2 separate regions of the Homo sapiens genome follow, and region 2 is linked to region 1. Evidence: promoter capture Hi-C in human tissues and cell types (Jung and others, 2019). All regions are on one chromosome and are shown on one strand. The core of a region is centred on a gene start or on the middle of the fragment in contact, and the rest is flanking DNA. Distances in the headings are between cores, read along the strand shown. Region 1 holds the start of G2E3 (G2/M-phase specific E3 ubiquitin protein ligase). Region 2 has its middle 280 kb from the start of G2E3.

The links. The method cuts DNA at HindIII sites, captures the fragments that hold promoters and counts their contacts. A contact is called where the count stands out against the background at its distance.
Region 2: a contact is called between a fragment that was not itself captured here and the fragment with the promoter of G2E3 in region 1, in 2 of the 25 tissues and cell types used here (IMR-90 fibroblasts and mesendoderm cells).

Annotation. Positions count from the first base shown.
Region 1 is chr14:30,557,871-30,560,483 of GRCh38, reverse strand. G2E3 (G2/M-phase specific E3 ubiquitin protein ligase) reads right to left here and starts at 1,326. Exons shown (of 15, transcript NM_017769.5): 1 at 1,212-1,326. The region is part of intron 3 of G2E3-AS1 (G2E3 antisense RNA 1); the gene reads left to right. RefSeq lists an enhancer at 1,471-1,660. The HindIII fragment of the contact is 13,115 bases long and covers 1-2,613 here.
Region 2 is chr14:30,282,757-30,285,369 of GRCh38, reverse strand. No RefSeq gene overlaps it. Among named protein-coding and RNA genes, the nearest start is that of G2E3, 280 kb to the left of the region's middle. The HindIII fragment of the contact is 6,239 bases long and covers 1-2,613 here.

The sequences.
Region 1 (2,613 bases), core at 77-2,576:
TCTTCCTGGCTAACACTTAAAAGTTCAATAGCAGGAAGAATGGGGGTGCTGGAATAGCCAGCACTGGATGAAGGAATGTTTTTATTCTGATTATTATGAAGTCCTACTTTTAAAAATATATTTATACATTTAAATGGTACAATATCCTGGTGTTAAAACCTTAAAAGGAACTTAAAATATCTTTTCGTATTAAGCTACACAAAACTGACGATTTTTAATAAAGATGTAAAACTTGTACACATTTAAAGTTCCCATTTATAGTTTACATTTATGGCACACTTTTAAACCATTCCAGAAGGCATGACTTTACTACTGGGTTAGACAGAGTTCCATATTTCAGATAGTTCATCATTAAAAATTAAAAAAAAAAAAGCCCAAAACAATAAAACCCAAAGAAACAGATGCTCAAAGCATTAGTGGATTACTTCCAAAAAGACTCCATAATAACCCAGTTGGCCAATGAATGAGGGAGGCGAAAAGGCAGGGCGGTGGAACTAAACCTTATCCCTATTGTTTGCAAACTAAGACCCTAGTTAATCACCACCGCTGTTACCACAGCCGGTTTAAATAGGAGTCTCGGATTTTTGCGGTACATGAAAAATGTCAACCGTGAAAGAAAAATATCCGGGTTTTAAATACAAAGGACACTCGAATTTCAGTTTAAATCCCACTCAGGCATTTCAAAGACTGTCACTTCCCTGCAGTCCAGAGTTAATCAAGGTTGCCCGGGTATCTCTCTCAGGAGGAACGCGGAGCCACGTAGAGCATCTTTTCATTCTAAACCCGCCCCAACCTTCCATCTTTCATTAAAAGAGATTTGTTTAAACGTGGCAACGCCTTCACAGTGAGATTTAACTACTGTTAAAATTTCAGCATTCGAGCCGAATTGGTGGAAATAATAAACTACGGGTTTAAAAAAAGCCACGGAGGATGCGTATAAACAAGGTTTACTCGCGGGGGACCGGCAGGGCCTCCGAATCCTCAACACTGAGAGCTGGCTGGCGTGCGCAACCGTCGAGAGCGCTGGTCCAGCAAACGCCCCCAGTGCCCCGAATTCCCTTAGTCTCCAGGCCGGGCCCCAGCACCAGACGTCCCCAAAAGCACTGCGAGGCCCCGGCTGCGACGTCCGGCCTCCTGACACCCTCTCCCACCCCACGGTCCTGCTTCTCTCTCTGGAACGTTCTGCGTCTTCCCGTTCCCCATTTACTCACCAAGGAGAGCTGGGCAGAAGTTCCAGAGCCTCAGTGCCACTTTTCCCGGCCCGCTGTACGTCGGGGCACGCCGACCGCGAGCAGCCACATTCAACGGCCCACAGGATTCAAATTCGTCCACTTCCGCTCGCAAACCCGGAAAGAGCGGTCGGCCCCGCCCTCGAGGGGTGGGACCCGCGGAGGCGCTGGCTGTGGGGAAGGGCCCGTGTGCTCCCGCCCTTCTGGCGCTCCTGCGCTGCTGCTCGGTGCTAACCTGGCTGTGTCGCCTTCGCTTGTTTGTTTTGTCGGGTCTCTCTCCCTATTTAGGAGCTCAGAAAAACTCCGGGCGCGGGGTCATTGTTTCCGCCTATTTGCTCTTGAGGGGATCCTCTTTTTTCCAAAATGGACAGAGATGTGCTGAAGTTTCGTCACCTTCGAGGAATGGGGCGAATGAAAGCACGAACGGAGGCAGGAGGGTTTTATCTTTCCCTTCATCCTCGAGGAAACAGCAGCAGCAGCAAGAAGGAAAAAAACAAACCCTCCAAGTACTTAGTGCAGCCTTTCCTGGGCCTCTCAGTCCTATCCCGGCACAGTCAGGGCTTTTAATTTATTTCTGTCCTGGGTTTAGGGAAAACAAAAAGCCAAGTTCACCCGTATTCAGCCAAAAGTTGAAAATAAGTGGTCGGACCAATTCCTGGTCTCAAATAAACTATTTGATGGTGTTAGAAGGCAATAAATTTTATTTCCCCCCTCAGATAAGGGCTCACTTTACGAGATTATTAAGTATTGTCCCGTGAGATTATTGAAACAACAGTATCTTTTCCTTTATCGAGGACCACAGTATGTCTTTGATCCAAAACGTCTTAAGCTTCTGAAGAGACATCTGGGAGCTTCCAGAAACTAAAGGAAGGACTGGAAATGCTAGGGGGTGAGGGGCGCTAAATAACTCTGACCTTTATGGCTGTGATTGATGTTGCCACCAGATCATCCTCACATCTAATAACATTGAATTACCTAAACGGATCAGTACAAACCAAACCATGACAGCATACCTTTAGCCTTTGTCAAAAATACAGTTTGAGGGCCGGGCGCGGTGGCTCACGCCTGTAATCCCAGCACTTTGGTAGGCCGAGGCGGGTGGATCACGAGGTCAGGAGATCGAGACCATCCTGGCTAACATGGTGAAACCCCGTCTCTACTAAATGTACAAAAAATTAGCTGGGCGTGATGGCAGGCGCCTGTAGTCCCAGCTACTCGGGAGGCTGAGGCAGGAGAATGGTGTGAACCCGGGAGACGGAGCTTGCAGTGAGCAGAAATTGCGCCACTGCACTCCAGCCTGGGCGACAGAGCGAGGCTCTGTCTCAAAAAAAAAAAAAAAAAAAAAAAAAAAATACAGTTTGAAAGGTTTACTAGATTTCTGAGA
Region 2 (2,613 bases), core at 46-2,545, 280 kb after region 1:
GGTAAAAATTTTGAGTGTCATTCTCTTATGTTAGTACATTATGAACTGTTTCTTGGTTAAGTAGTTTGATTTTCAGCTTCATAAGGTATTTGGCAATATTATATTTTCAATGAAATACCTTCTATTCTCTCCCCCTAAAGATAGCTCTTTCGTCCTCTGTGCACTCTTGGGGTGTTGTACATAAAATATTTTAACTATGTAAAATGTGATAGAATATTTTAATTATTTGTTTTACATGCATCTGTTTCCTCCATGAGACTGTAGGCACCTTGGGGGCAAGAAGTACCACCAAGTCATAACTGTATAAATAGCACGTAACAGGTACCCAGTCCAATGCTTACTGCTGGGTAAATACCAGGTTCTCTGAAGCTACAGGAGGCAGGTCGCTCTCAGTGTGACCTCTGCCCTCTGTGCTGACTGCGACCTAGGACTACTTTTCAGGATTTTTATGGGAGACTTTGTAAGCGAAGTCTTTCTTCAATGTTTGATCATTAGGCAATAAATAAATATATTTTAAATTGGTCAGGAAGTACTTGATCTATGCTAGCTAGTTTTATTACTTCGATATTCCTCTAAGTGTCATTTTCTTAATTAAAAAATTTCTGCCCTATTTCTTTATTAAAATGAATTTTAGCTTCTTAAAAACAAAAATATACAGAAGACATTGAAAATATACTCCACAATCTCTCTACCTTGATAGCCTCTGCTGATATTTAAGAATAAGAAGCGTATATGTACACATTTAGACATTTCAAAGTGAACAGAAAGGCAAAAAATAAAAAGTAACTCCTCACTCTCTCTCCTCTAACCAACTCAGTTGTCCAGTGGTTAATTTTTTGTTATTCCTTGATTTACTTTAAGTGGTAATGCACAACGTATGTAACTTGTGTTTCAATAATATGGGTTCTGTTATGTTAATAAAGAATTTTTTCAGACAAATAAACTGTGTTCAATATTAAAGTGTGCATTTTAATTTTTATGACTGTTGTTAGGATGACAAGCAAATGTGTCGATGGACATACATCATCTCAACTATTGCCTTCATGTCATTACTTGGATTGCAAAAGTAGCCTCAGCCAGAAATAACTATCTTCAGTGCTTGCCTTGTAAATCTAGCCTATTCAGTGGGCACAAAGTCACAGTGGGTCTCCTTCTAACACTTAGTATTCTGCTTTAAATGATTTTAAAAATGAAATGGAGAATTTGGGTTACATATAATTTTTATACATAAACAAGTTGAAAGCATTGGGACCTTATCTTGAGACAAATCAGAATAGCTACTTAAGTTTGAGCAGGCAGATTTCTCTAGGAGTTACTCTGGCAATGATTACTGCCTAATGGGGGCAGCAGAGAGCTAAAGCCCAGGAAGCTTGAGAAATGCTTCTTCAAGGAAAGGTGCCTAACTAGTCAAGAGGTAGGGCCCAGTGAGAGAGGAACCAGAGTCTGGGGATAGATGTTACCGAAAAAGTCCAAACCAAGCTGGGCTGGATCCTAGAAATCAAGAAAAAGGAAGGAAGTTGGACATAAGTAGAAGTGAAAACTCTTGTCAAATCTGGAGGCCAGATGAGCCCTTTTGTGGCAGTGGCTAAAGACTTCCTGGTTGACGCCGCTCAACCTTAAAGGGCTTCGGGCTCTGACACAGACTTTTCAGCTAAAGCCATGTTCCTGAGTTTTAAGAGCCCGGCACTGTGTTGGGCCCAAAGAGAAATAAGATTTAGCTTCCATTATTGAGGGGCTTATAGGTTTTCATTATTGTTGAATACAAAAAGAAAATAGGCTGGGTGTGGTGGCTCACGCCTGTAATCCCAGCACTTTGGGAGGCCGAGGCGGGCGGATCACCAGGTCAGGAGATCAAGACCATCCTGGCTAACACGGTGAAACCCCGTCTCCAGTAAAAATACAAAAAATCAGCCAGGCGTGGTGGTGTGTGCCTGTAGTCCCAGCTACTCGGGAGGCTGAGGCAGGAGAATCACTTGAACCCGGGAGGCGGGGCTTGCAGTGAGCGGAGATCATGCCACTGCACTTCAGCCTGGGCGACAGAGCAAGATTCTGTCTCAAAATAAATAAATAAATAAATAAATAAATAAATAAATAAATAAATAAATGGAATGGAGTAGAAACATACTCTAGTAATGACGCATGACTTCACTGATTCATTTATTCATGTAACACTAGGAAAGCAATGGCACTCTAGTGGGTAGATCGACATTAATAATTATTAACAAAGAAATGTGATATTAGATACTTAATACTGTGAAGGAAAAGTATGCAGCTTTGTGAACATATGTCAGAGAAATTGGATCTAGGCTGAAAATCAGGGAAGGCTTCTCAGAAAATGATGTTGGTATTTCTTAAGTTATGCAAATATGCAAAATGGATCTACATTTATTGAATCATCATTGCTCTGCTATTCATTGCACTATAAGACAGTAGTATGTCATGCATACAGTGAATGCAAAGGAGTTCACATCAAAGGCACCTAATTAGTCCTGAGAATAATGTTTTCCATTAATATAATATTGTTTAAATAATTCCATTAAGCGAAAAGTTTTTCTGATGATAGACATAATTAAATGTTGGAAACCAAGTAATCTATTTAATTTCAAAGGAAAA